Linked DNA regions of Homo sapiens: all the other regions are linked to region 2. The links are contacts of gene promoters, found by promoter capture Hi-C in blood cells and fetal thymus (Javierre and others, 2016). All regions are on one chromosome and are shown on one strand. Each heading gives the region's core, a stretch centred on a gene start or on the middle of the fragment in contact. The rest is flanking DNA. Distances are from core to core; before and after follow the strand shown. Region 1 holds the start of HPF1 (histone PARylation factor 1). Region 2 holds the start of GALNT7 (polypeptide N-acetylgalactosaminyltransferase 7). Region 3 holds the start of MFAP3L (microfibril associated protein 3 like).

Region 1 (4,461 bases), core at 433-2,932, 3.4 Mb before region 2:
CGTCCCTAACTAGGAAGTGGAAGAGAAGGGATTTAAACTCAGGTTTAAATCTGGGTCCACAGCAGATCCTCAACCACTTCACTATGCTGCTTCTCCAACATCAAATATAGAACAGTAGGAACATATGAAGTCCTGAGCTATCCTATCTTCTGTTTTCATAACTGTCTTTGTTCAGACGTTCAAAGACTGGCTCCAACTTAAGATGTTAGAAAAGGCTTAATCTGCCTTGCTGAAAGGCAGTTTTGCATAATAGTTAGGTTGCCTGGGTTGACTCCTGACTCTACTGATTTCCAACCTTAGGCAAGTTACTTAACCTCTCTGTGCTTTGTTTTCTCATCTGCAAAAAGGGCATACAGTGCCTATATCGGGGTTGTTACAAGGAATGTTATTATATGTAAAAATACACAGAACGGTCCTAGCACATAATATACAAATGCTGGCCATTACGGTTATAGTCTCTACAGACTCATCTTCATTTCTGTTATTGTATTTCTAGTTAAGCACATCACTCCACCAAAGCAGTTCTTCACTGCACCTTCAAAAAGAGAATTTTTTCAGCTGTGCCTTTACTCACACACTAGTTCAGCATCTCCATAGCCCTAACAACTAGGATTTAGAACAGCTGTCCCCTTCAGAGGCTACACTTCTTCTTTACCCTGGTCTTCCTAGAATGCATGACCCAATATGAAGGATGCCTATACCGATGGCCCTTTAACAGTTAGTTAAGCCCTCTAAGAATGTCTCACCCTGTCCGATTTATGACACTACCAGAGTAACTTTTCTAAAACTTTAGTTATCACAATGGCACTTCTTTCCTGATTCCCCTTATTGCTACTGTAGTGGTTACAGAACTTCCGAAATCGTAGTAAAGTATGAGAATGCACACACTCTCTCCTCCTCCCCTCTCAGTAGTGCTTTTATGATCAGGTCCCTCTTATTTTCCCATTTCCCTGGCTCCAGCCAAGCCGAACGCTCCGCTACGCCCAAACATCTCCTACAGTTTTATGTCTCAGAATCTTACTTCTCTGCCTTCAAAACCAATTTTCAAAGAGTTGTCTTAAAAGTCTTCTTTAACACCCCCTGGGACTTGTTAAATCCTCCTTCAGTGTTTCCATAGCACTTTCTACACACCAGCGTTATAATCCCAAACAAAAAAGTCACAGTAGAATGCATATTTGCTTGTGCCCCTCCTCCCCAGGCCGAGGGCTCAACAAGCAGCAGGAGCAAGCAGGTTGACCCCCAAATCCGCAGCGCCCCACAGAATGTCAGGTATGTAATCGGTTCCCAATCAATCTGGCTGGGCGAATGAACCATTGGTTGGCTTAATCCGTTTCCCCAGGAAATGCTCCAAGAGGAGCTGGGCAGAAGATGCAGAGGAGCTACTTTCCTGGTCCAACCCCCTGCAGAGCGCGAAACAGCGGCCCTGGGCAGGATCCCCGCAGCAAACCGCAGCCCCTGGACACACAGCAAGCTTAATAGTCACTGGATGAATGAAAAGCGCTGCCTCCTGGTGCCCTGGCTGTCACCCAAAGCGCCCCGCGTAGCCCGCACAGCCTTTCCGGCAGTACCTGCGGCCCCTCTCCGCCGGGCCTGCGCTTCCCGCCACCGCCGACCATTCTGCAGCTGCAGCGCCAGCAGAATTCCCCGATCCGCGGCCGCTTCCGAGCGCCGCCAACCGCTTCCGGGTTCAAAAGCCTCCAAGCCGAATTTCAGCGCCGCCCGGGCTCGCCAATTTAGGGGAAAGGCTCCGCCCATTCCCCGCCCCCTGAGACCTGGCACCGGACGCGTTGAGGCCCCGCCCACTCCCGTGCTGGGCGCGTGCAAGGAGCGTCTTCTGTCAGCGTAGTCTGCATCTAGGCTTTCTGGAGCATCTTCCAGGGTCGCTCCAGAGACCCCCCAGACTACTGAATCTGAATCCTTAGAGTGGTCCAACCTTCCTCTTCAGGTGTCTACTAGAGGCAAGGTTGGATGTATGCGGCTGTTCTCAATACAGCCCCTTCCTTGTTTTTTCTTCATTTATATTTACTTAAAATATTAATCCTTTTCTCCTTCTCCTCCATCCCTCTCCCTACCCTACTGTACGGTTATTGGCTTACACTAATTCATTCCCGATTGTCTCCAAGAAGGAAATAAATGTCTGTCGGTCTCTGTCTCTGTACCGTCGTCTTCTTGGTACAATTTGGACTGTTTTTCCTCTACACCGCTGATATGCAAAGTGTAGTCCCTGAACCAGCGGCCTCAGCATCCTGAGGGAATTTGTTAAAACGCCAAATCTCAGGCCTTACCCAGACTTACTGAATCAATATCTGCATCGCAACAAGATCCCCTGGTAATTCCTATGCACATAAAATTTGGAAGGCACAACTCTCAACTGATGTCCTTGGACCTCCTTCACATCCATCCTGGGAAGGTCTTATTCCTCATTCCTGAGATGAGTTCTCTATTTCCTCAATCTGGGTGTTCCTTTTTCTTGATTATATACCCTCATGTTGTGGAACATATCCGCCAATAGTTCCTTGAGAGAGGTTGCTGCCAGGTCTTTTTTCCCACAGAGTGTGCATGTCTGGAAATGTTTTTATTCTGGCTGAGCACAGTTCTAGGTTGAAAATAACTTTCACTCGGAATATTGGAGGGCTTGCTCCGCAATATTTTAGCTTCCAGAATTGTTAAGAAACTATGTCGTTATATTTCCTTCTCCTTCACAGGTCACTAAATTTCTTGATATGTAACCTGCTTTCCTTTCTGTTTTGTTTTGTCTCAAGAAGCTTTAGGATCTTTTCTCTGTTTCCAGTGTTTTTTGTTTTGTTTTGTTTTGTTTTGTTTTTTTTGAGACGGAGTCTCGCTCTGTTGCCCAGGCTGGAGTGCAGTGGTGCCACCTCAGCTCACTGCAAGCTCCACCTCCCGGGTTCACACCGTTCTCCTACCTCAGCCTCCGGAGTAGCTGGGACTACAGGCGCCCGCCACCACGCCCAGCTAATTTTTTTTTTTTTTGTATTTTTAGTAGAGACGGGGTTTCACCGTGTTAGCCAGGATGGTCTCGATCTCCTGACCTCGTGATCCGCCCTCCTCGGCCTCCCAAAGTGCTGGGATGACGGGTGTGAGCCACCGCGTCCGGCCTATTCCCAGTGTTCTAAAACACTATTGAGTGTCTTGGTTATGGGTCTTTTCTCATTCCTATCGACCAGTTTTTCAATCCTGAAACACATGTTCTTCAGTTATGGGAATTCTTCTGGTATTATTTATTTGATCATTTCTTCCCCCCCACCCCCCATCGTATCTCTTCTTTTTTGAAATTTGTTATTTAGATCGTGGACCTTCTTGGCTGATGTTTTTTCTTACCTGTCTGTCCTATTTTCTATGTCTTCATATTTTTATTCTACTTTCTCTGTGACTTTCTCAACTTAATTGGACAATTACTTAATTTCTTTATTATACTTAATAAAGATTAATTACTTAATTTCTGTATTATACCTTTATTTCTCAGTGCTCTTTTTATTCTCTGTTCTTTTATAGCATTACATTATTTTTCATGAATATAGCTCCTTTTATCTCTGAAGATGTCAATTATAGCGTTTTTAAAAATGCTTTCTACGTAACTCTGCATTGACTTTGATTCTTTTGAGTCTTTTTTGGTTGTTTGTTTGTTTACATTTGGTTCCTGTTGTTTCTGCTAGAGGCATTCTTCATCTTGTGTGGTGATCCTTGCTGTCAATTTATATGTAAAAATGAGGCTCTAAAAAGGTGCTTTGGGGACATAGGCAAGGCTTGTTTACTGCTGGACAAGGTGTAAGATGATGGGGAAAGAACCAGCTGTTTATTTTCTTCTAGAGAGTAATCTTCTAATTACTCACTTTGAGAATATACAGACTTCTTGGAGCCCAATGCAGGAAGGAGGCTGGGAGTCTTAATAATTTCATTATATGCACTGTATTAGTCGGGGTTCTCCAGAGAAACAGAACAAATAGGTATCTATTTATCTATATCTATACCTACATCTGTATCTAGCTATCTATTAGCTCACGTGATTATAGGGGTTGAGAAGCTGCATAATCTGCTGTCTGCAAGCTGAAGATCCAGAAAGCCCATATTGTAGTTTGAAGCCCTGATAACTGGGGAGCCAATGGTGTAGATTCCAGTTCGAGTTTGAAGTCTTGCAAACCAGGATCACCAAGGGCAGGAAAAGATCAAAGATTCAGTTCAAGAATCTAGCAGAGAGAGAGTGAATCCTCCCTTCCTCTACCTTTTTGTTTTATTCAGACCCGAATGGATAAGATGATGCCCACCCACATTGGTGAGGATAATCTCTTTTACTTAGTGCCCCCGCAGACACTCAGTAATACCGATTAACCAGGTATCTGGGCATCCTGTGGTCCAGTCAAGTTGACACATAAAATTAACTCTCCACCGCGTGTGGCGGCTCATGCCTGTTTCCCAGCACTTTGGGAGGCCAGGGAGGGTGGA
Region 2 (4,359 bases), core at 94-2,593:
GGGGGAGGCTGAGGCAGGAGAATTGCTTGAACCCGAGAGGTGGAGGTTGAGGTGAGCCAAGATCGCACCACTGCACTCTACTCCAGCCTGGGTGACAGAGTGAGAGACTCCGTCTCAAAAAAAAAAAAAAAAAAAAAAAAAAAAAAAAAAAAAAAAGAAAAGAAAAAAAACCCCAAAAAACTTAGGATAAAATCTTAAAACGTTTTGTTCGACTTAAATTTAAATTAGCAGTTTAGGATATAGTACACTGATAATGTAATTACATACATTCTGCTATAAAGGCATAGACATCTTTATTGGGAGATATGGGCAGAAAAATTATTTCCTCAGGGTGGGGCATTTGGCTAAACACTTGCCAATATCCTTTACTGTGTAATTTAGGTAACACAGGCAGAAAAGGCGTTTGAAAAGCAGAAATCAAGTGGCAAATATCAGATCTGAGGGACGCAATGAGGGTGGAGTTGAAATCCGTGGTCCTTGGATTTGAAACTTACCAGCCCGTGAACAAGGTTGGTATTGCTTTTGGCATAAGACGACAGCCTTTCTTTTCATTAGCTCAGGAGGAATACTGGCTTTCCAAGTGAGCTCCTCCAATCCAGTGATATTTGCACATCTCACCTGGGCCTTTCGGTTACAAATTCACCACCTTAAGGAGCCGTGTGAAAAAGCAAGAACAATCAATAAGAAGGAAAAAAAAAAACCCTTCAGCTATAAATCAGCCACGTGGAGCTGCTGCAGCAGCAGCGGTAGTCCCACTTCCTGGTTGGCTTCCTGAAAGCCTCTCGACAAGGGGCTCAGGGAAGTGGGTCTAAGGGAGAGGTGCAGACGAGAGCGACTCCAGGTCCAACGGAGGGGGCGGCGGGCCACGGGATCCCGGAGGGCACAGGCGTTAAGGACGGAGTTATTGTCCATAATTACAATAAAAGTTTGGGGATCTGAAAGCTTTAAGGAGCTGAGCTGCAGGGCAAAGGCTAAGAACCGGACTCGGGAAAAGTGCAAGTTAGTTACAAGGTAGCAGGGACTGTGAAGGGGGCTCGCGTGGAGAGCAGGGGACTGCGGATCTGGAAGGGGGCAGGTAGAGAGGAAGGCAGCCTGGCAGAGCGAGGCACACGGGTCAGTCGGAGCTCTGCGGTGGCCGCCAGAGGGGAGGGGGCCACGGGGAGGAGCGGAGGGAAGAGCCCGGGGAAAGGTGTAGCCGAGGGGAGTTCCGGATCTGGAGCTGGAAAGGGCAGGCAGCGGAGAGGGCGGCAGCCGTAGCGGTAGGGGTGGGGGAAAGAGGGGGAGGAGAGCCGGAGGAGGGGGAAGGAGGGAGGGGAGAGCGGTGGCGGCGGCTGCGCCGGGCTGTGAGTCTCTCGCCGCCGGAGGAAGATGAGGCTGAAGATTGGGTTCATCTTACGCAGTTTGCTGGTGGTGGGAAGCTTCCTGGGGCTAGTGGTCCTCTGGTCTTCCCTGACCCCGCGGCCGGACGACCCAAGCCCGCTGAGCAGGATGAGGGTGAGTGACCCGCCCGGCCCCCTCCGGCGGCAGCGACCGGCAACTTGTTTTGTTTGCCCGCGTGTGGAGGGAGCAGGGGCGGCGGGGTCGCGGCACGGCGTGGGCACCGCAGCTCCGCAGGTGGTGCTGGCGCAGCGCGGGCCGAGGGGGTGCCGAGCCCCGCGCACTCCGACCTCCCTGGCCGCCGCCGGCCCGCCCCCTCGCCGCCCCTTCCTCCGCTCTTCCCCGCCCCGGGCTCCGTCGCCGACACCCGCGCTGCCGCGGCAGCGGCTCGGGCGGCCGCTCTCCGCGCCGGGACTGCGGGCGGAGCGGGCGGAGAGCCGGGTCCGGGGGGCTGCGGCCGCCCGGCGTCCCGCTCTGGGGGGCCGGGACCGCAGCGCTCACGGCCCGGGGACGCGGGGTTGGTCCAGGCTGCGGCCTGTGGCGCGTGCAGGCCTGAAGGAGGCGAGATGCCGATGCCGCCACCGCTGGTCCGGTGGACCAGGCCCCTTGGTCCAGCCTCCCCTCCCGCAGCCGCCCGTCTGGGGGTGTTCGCAGCCCCGGGCTCCCCCGGCCCGCCCGCCGGGGAGTGGGAGGGCGATGGCGCCCCGCCTCCGGCTCTTACGGAGAGCGCGCCTCCCCCTCAACTCCGGCGGCGGGGAGCCGGGGTGCGATGCGCGGCCGAGGCCTCGCCCGGACCGCCGGTCCCCCTCGCGTCCCTGGGCGAGGGAGGGGCGGTTGGCCGGAGATGGCGGAGGGGCGTCCCCGCCCCGCCTGCCCGCCGCCCCCAGCCCTCAGCGCCTGGGGAAGCCCCTGCTGTGGCAGTGCTCGGGCGCTATCCGGGGGAAGAGGAGCAGTTCCTCTTCCTTGGCTGCGGCAGGGCTGCTTGGGCCGGAAAACTAACTTGTGTCGGCGCCCGGCCGCCCCGCGCCGGCTGCCGGCTAGCTCAGGCCGACGCCGAGGGGAGCGGCGGCGCGGAGCTCGCGGCGGCTCCGCTGGGACGCATTTGTCTGCCGCCCAGGGCGCGAGTGTTAGCGCTGACATTCCTTGGATTTGGAGGGTTTAGTCAGGCGCCTCGGAACATTAGTTACCCGGAGCCGCGCCGCGCGGGGAAGGGACCGCGGGCACTGCGGCTTCCCTGACCCGGCAGCGGGCGGCGCGCACCGGCCTCGCCCCCGACCCTGACCTGCTTCCCCCCGGATGAACCGTTGCACCACCTGCTTCCTCCTCCCCGCTGGGACAGCCAACTGGGCCGGCTGCCAGTGGGGGTAGGAGAGGGTATGAGGGGCTCACGACCGCCGAGGCGGCGGGGCTGCAGGAGGAGTCGAGTCGCTCTCTCTGTTGTAAAGTGCTTTTTGCAAGTGTGATGAGCATCGCTTCTATGTCATGTTTATTTAACTTTCCTTCTGGAAAGTTAGCATCAAGAAGTTGGGCAAAAAGGCTTGTGGCGTCCTTTCAAGAGTAAGAATCCTAGGAGGAGATCCCATTATCAGCTCTTCGCCTATATCATGAGATTAGATGTAATCTGGAAGTTTTAGTATTTGAAGTCTCTACAGCAGTGGAATCCCTTTGTAATATCTGGGATAGATTCCCATCTAAGTCATCTAAATTGATGGTAATAAAAAGTATCAGTTTTCCTTTTCAGTACATTTGCGGTTTTAAGCTTCTCAGCTCATGGAGTGATGGTGATCTTTTTATAATTTTGCTCTCAATATGACTTATTGACAAAGGATAACTGAATATTGCAATTGAGGATATTTGTTTTAAGTCATCAAATGGCTTTTTACATGTAGCTAGAAATGTTTAACCCCCTATTTTCTGGTAGAGAAACTGACGAAAAACTGACAAAACTAGCTAGGTTCAGAATGTCCCGCCCTTCTGATGATCTTTTAAAGAGGTGGCGGAACATCAGCATCACTTGCCAACTCGTGGAATATTTTATTAGTGCAAACAAAGGATGGGCCATAATGCCCATTTCAGTACTATATGGTGATGATAAAGAAGGTGATGATATCTTGATTTTTTGTTTGTTTCAGTGTACTTGATAAAGTTTCTCAGTGGATCCAGTGTAATTTCTGTCATTTGTCAAAAACAAAAGGTAGATTTTAAAGACTTAACATAATTAACATTAAGAGGAATGCTTAGGTATCAGAAGAGCAAGAAAGACCCTTTTATTGGCTTCCCAGGTAAATAGTAATACAAGCAATTTAAAGTGTAGCTTATAAATAATAAGAGCATAAATAAGGGATTATTGCCTTCCTTTAATAAAGACTAACCTAGGAGCTTTTAAGGTACAGTGCTAGAAGGACAAATCCTGTAGGGAGGATTCTGACTCCTGAGTTTCTCCTCCCCCTTGTGGTTCTTTTACTTCGATGACTATTGCATATATTCCACCCATGGTGAGATCTCTGCTTCTCTTTAATGCTGATCTACACATGGACTTTTTTGGATCCCTTTAAATAGCCTGAACGATCCAGTTTACCAGGTATGGGTTCTGCCTCTACTCCAGCAAGCTTGTACCTGTGGCTCCATTCACCCTGTGCCACTTTTTGTCTTGAACTATGAATATGTCATACACTAAATTCTGTTACAGCCTTGACAACTTGGGATGGTCCTTTCTCATCTGCACTATTTCCTTGTTTTAGGTCTGTCCACCTGTGGAGTCAAGACAAAAGAAACATGTTTCTTATTTCCTTCCCATCTCTGGGCCTCTTGCCCTTTCTCTGAAGTGAATGATGTGAAAAATGACCTTACATTTCCGATCATATTCTGTTGTGTGATTTTAAATATTGATTTATTTGAACATTTTTGAGTGCCAATTATATACCAGGCATGGTACTAGTTGTTAAGGAAATACTCCTTGTCCTTAATCTCATGGATCTTGTA
Region 3 (4,413 bases), core at 574-3,073, 3.1 Mb before region 2:
CTACTTCTACTGGGGAATGTCACCTGAGGATATGAGACCTGCTGTTCAGGATAAGGTGTACATGCAGGCAGTACTTCATGAAAGATTTTAAACTTGATGCATTTTTATAGAAAAGAGAAGCACAATTATTCAATATTTGTGTTGGAGTTTTCAAACTTATTTTTCTATAAATGTATTTAGAAATAAATTTAGGATGAGTGAACATCACCAACCAGACTATTTGGCTAAAATGGGGGACTGCAGGTTCTAATTCATAAAAATGGTAATCATGTTGTTGCTACTGCTGTTGTCTGGATGTTTCAAGCCTTTCCTATTATTAAACCTCGGTTATGCAGCATCACAGGACAGAGCCAACTCTATACTGGGGGAAATCACCCCAGAGAGTATCCAGAATTAGAGCTGGAGCCATCTCAGGCTTGCAAGCAAGCACCAACCTTAAAGCCTACCCACAACTCAATGAAAAGTCAATGCATTTCTAAAGTCTATTAAGGTCTATAAAGAATGTAAACAATTGTTTTGTAATAAGCTTAATGAATAAAACAACTGAACCCACTAAGTGGTACTTATAGAAAAGAGGCTTGAGAATTTAGCTTTAGTTAGCAGAACTAGTTCCCACTAGAACAGGATTGTTTATCTTGCCCCTATTAGATACAATAATCCTAATAGTGTTAATGGTACTAAATGTTTTAGGAATAAACAACTGTAGAAACCACACTGGGACCTACAAATTGCACTTTCTGTGTAAGTAAAATGTCAGAAGAACTACACTGTTATAACTTACGGTCTCATGAAACGACATTTTTTTCCATCTTGTATTTCATCTTGAAGGATTTTACTATGTTCAGCATAGTAGCAACTGAAAAAAATGTGTTTCATCTAGAAACAAAAGTGAGAAAACTACAAAAAACACTGAGCTTCTGCAATGCTCGGTTTCCAAGTTTTTAACATTAAATCGAAGATAACGCAAAATAAAGATTGCCACAGTAACCAAACTTTTCTGCTAAGTATCCTTAAAAATAATGACAGTTCGATCGTATCTTAACTGTTTTCTACAATGTGAGCAGATAATACACCTACAAACCTTTTTTTGCTACCTTGCTTTATAAAGCTTGCAAGTTTTTTTTTCAGGGCTGGAGAAGACAGCTTAATGATCAAGCTTAAAATAAATCGGTTCTGCAATCACTCTGTATTTTAATCCGATGAAGCACGTTTCCCCATTCCACGCCATGAAGCAATTCGATGTCAACTTGTTATGGAGTCAAATGCGACAAACTCCGAGAGCTTCAGTAGCGAGGCGGCGGCTCGCAGCACCCACAGCCGCCCGCACTCCTGCGGCATCAGGACACGGCGCCCTCCCGACGCGGAACCCGCATTCACGTTCTCCGGAGCCCTGGCCAGCGCACGCTCCTCCCTGTCCGGGTAAACTGAGGCACAGCGATGAGAGAGATCCAGAGCCCAGCGAAAGCCCCCACGGCTGTTCGGCGTCCCCTTCCCCCACGACACCTAGGAGGCTCGCCGGCAGCTGGCAGTGGATTCCGCGCTCCTCGCCCTCGGAAGGTTACGGTTCGAGCCCAGGATGCGGCAGTCCCCAAACGGCCAGCCCCCGCCCCGCACGGATCTCGAAGCATCCTGCGACCCCCTGGAGCCCGCTGCCCGGACCCTGCGGCGTCTCGCAGCGCAGCCTCCGCCGCAGTCTCAGCCAGCCCAAACACCCGAAAGTTCGGCGGCCCCGGCGCCGACTCGGCCGCCGACCCGGTGCGGGGCTGGCTCCCACCCGTGCCCCTCCGCCCCGGCCCGCCGGGGGCCCCCGCTAACCTGACACCGCCGCGCCACTCAGGTGGCCGCCGTGCACCCCTCGCCATGGCCAGCCCGACAGCGGCCGCTGCGCCGCACTCTGCGCCGGACGCCCGGTAGCGCCTACTGCGGGCGAGCCGCCTCCGCCGGCGCCTCACAGCGTTGCGAGCTGCGCCGCCGGCTGCCGGGAGCGCGGAGCTTCCCACCTACAGGAGCCTGGGCCGGCCGGGGCCGAGCATGCCCAGTGCGGCTCGCCGGGCGGCGCGGAGGCGCGGGTGTAGCCGCCGGGTTTTCGCGGCAGCCGCGGGCGGGGGCAGCGGGGCGGGCGGTGCGGCGCGAGCCAGTCGGTGCTGCGGAGCGGCCCCGCGGAGGAGCCACCGGAGGCTGTAGTTGCCGGGGAGTCCCGCATTCAGTCCGCTCAGCCTCTGGGCCGGGCCTCGGCGGCCCCCAGAGCCCCACACCCGCAGGCCCAGGGCCTCCGCGGCAGCGCGGGACTCTCACTCCGCTCTCTCTCCCGCCCGGGGCTTCCACCGCAACTTCTGTGGGCGTCGCATCGCACGCGTGTTCAAGGACACCCAGGAAAAGGCTTCTTAGGGTCCCATCCTGGGGCGCTAAATGGGAACCAGTCAACCCACCCCCAAGCCTACCCTGTCTCCTTGCAATCAAATGCAATCACGAGCAAACCACCTTGCTTCCGAAAGCTTCTCAGGCCTTCCCGGGCGACTGCGCTGTAAGTCTTAAACGTCTCTTAAAGCAAAGTCCACAGATGGAAGAGTCTGGAAAAAAACCCAGCGGGCCGTTCCCTGGTGACTTTCTGAGTGGTGGGGTTCCAGGAATTTTTTTTTCATTTTCTTTAAAAATATTATTTGTAATTTCCACGTTTTTTCTAATGAACCATAAGTTGATTTTTTAATTAAAAAGTAGAGTACTCTAAAATTATTAAGTACCTACAGAAGTTTCGCTACACGATCCTGCAATGTTAGTGGCTTCTTCTCCTCCTTATCTCCCTTTTTTTTTTTTTTTTTTTAATTTTAAAAGAGAACAGAGACTCTCAATTTCTGGGGCGGGACCAGGCTCCTTCCCCCGGCTTTTTAGTGCCCGCCCTCTTGGCCACACCCCACTCCGGCCTTTTTACTCCCGTACCGCCCTCTTCCCGGTGGGTTGCTGCGAAAACCCGGAAAGGTGGACTTTCCACATTGACGCTCCCGGCGGCTCCGGCAGCCAGACTGGGCATGTTCCGCCGCCGGGTCAGGCATTGCTGTGCCAAGAGAGGAGCTTTAGCAACTCTCAGTCTCTCTGCTCCTCTCTGTTCCTGGCAAACTGGCAAAGTAGTGCCTCTGACCCCACGCCCCGAGGTCGGACCTGCAGAAGTGGGTCAGGACCCGACTGAGCATGCTCCGGGCAGTGCCAGGCTGCCGCACGCGGCTGCATCTGGTTGCCCAAGGTTGATGTAGCCGCGGTCTCTCGTCACGACATCGAAGCTCGGGAAACGGATGGAAGCAGGGCTCTAGAGAGGCACGATTGCATCGACACGTGGGCAGGTCGCCCATGCCAAGGGCCATGTTGGTGGGTGGGTGCGTGGGATCTGTCGTATGAGTGAGTCAAAGCCTGATTTTTTCCCCCAAAAAGATTGAAATGAGATATCATATTTTAACATTAGTTTTATGGCATCTTGAATAGCAACACATTTTAGCTCAAGGAATTTTTCAGCTGTCCTTTTGAGAAACGTAAATTTTCTTTGTTTTTAAGTATTTAATAAGCATTCTTTACAATTGCACCACAGCGCGAACTTTCCACCTGCTTTATTAATTATGACATTTGTGTCCCCACTATTAAAATATTCCGCAGTATTATATCCCGTTTTCTTCTCCAGCATTTCTGCATTCACTCTGACTCTATTTCCTCCCCTCCCCCATCTCTTTTAAATTCTCAGACAACCTGCAAAATGCACTCTTGCTATCTTAGAAACCACTTGAGGTCGGTGTGGGGAACTTGCTTTTAATTCTCATTTAGAGAAGACAGTACTGAAATGGAGAAAAGTCACAGGGAAAGTACTTTTACAGATTGTAGATTAGTAAAGAACCCAAAGAGAGCCTTTCATTGAGAGCAGAAAGGCGAATGGAATTCGCTGTTTTCTGTCTAAGGAGGAGGAGGATGGGCAGGCAGGTCAGCTGCCCAGTGGGGCTTGGTGTGATAGTGGGAGTCACCCTTCATTTGAACCTCTCTGCCTTGCCCAGCTCCAGTTCAGCTTCAGCGTGGTCAGAGACACTATCTCTATGGAAGGTCACTCCTGGAAGAATACATTTACTTAGCTGCTTCCACCATGGAATCCTAGCTTGTGCTGGAGTGTCCCCTTCATCCTCCTCCTGTGCTTTGAGAATCCATTGTTGCTGGTATGCCCTGAGCAGTGCCCTTGAACTTGCCCAGGTACCCCTTGACATCCACACCACAAATAGTCTAGCCTTACAAAGGTGGACAAGATGTCTTTTCAACAGTCTGTACTGCCACTTCCATCCATCTGAAGCTTTCTGTTCCTGAGTCTGTCATGACATTAATCTTTCAAAAATCTTTCACAGAGATTTTTAGTCTCTACTAAAAATACAAAACAATTAGCCAGGC

Evidence for each region. Contacts are between HindIII fragments. The CHiCAGO score rates a contact against its expected background, and 5 or more counts as called.
Region 1: the fragment with the promoter of HPF1 here is called in contact with the fragment with the promoter of GALNT7 in region 2 in 3 of 17 cell types (fetal thymus, total B cells and activated CD4 T cells); the score reaches 8.4 in fetal thymus.
Region 3: a contact is called between a fragment that was not itself captured here and the fragment with the promoter of GALNT7 in region 2, in 1 of 17 cell types (total B cells). The highest score is 6.2, in total B cells.

Annotation. Positions count from the first base shown.
Region 1 is chr4:169,756,262-169,760,722 of GRCh38, forward strand. HPF1 (histone PARylation factor 1) reads right to left here and starts at 1,683. Exons shown (of 8, transcript NM_017867.3): 1 at 1,569-1,683. The coding sequence starts at 1,616. LOC107986240 (a long non-coding RNA gene) reads left to right here and starts at 1,802. Exons shown (of 3, transcript XR_001741529.2): 1 at 1,802-1,963. RefSeq lists an enhancer at 1,531-1,600. The HindIII fragment of the contact is 1,294 bases long and covers 1,470-2,763 here.
Region 2 is chr4:173,167,468-173,171,826 of GRCh38, forward strand. It overlaps GALNT7 (polypeptide N-acetylgalactosaminyltransferase 7), which reads left to right and starts at 1,344. Exons shown (of 12, transcript NM_017423.3): 1 at 1,344-1,494. The coding sequence starts at 1,369. GALNT7-DT (GALNT7 divergent transcript) reads right to left here and starts at 2,185. Exons shown (of 7, transcript NR_134242.1): 1 at 1,397-2,185; 2 at 495-646. RefSeq lists an enhancer at 613-712 and silencers at 1,023-1,072, 1,143-1,262, 1,493-2,722. The HindIII fragment of the contact is 476 bases long and covers 941-1,416 here.
Region 3 is chr4:170,024,419-170,028,831 of GRCh38, forward strand. It overlaps MFAP3L (microfibril associated protein 3 like), which reads right to left and starts at 1,977. Exons shown (of 3, transcript NM_021647.8): 1 at 1,816-1,977. RefSeq lists silencers at 1,785-1,874, 1,955-2,354, 2,813-2,882 and enhancers at 2,354-3,073, 3,063-3,202. The HindIII fragment of the contact is 1,339 bases long and covers 1,155-2,493 here.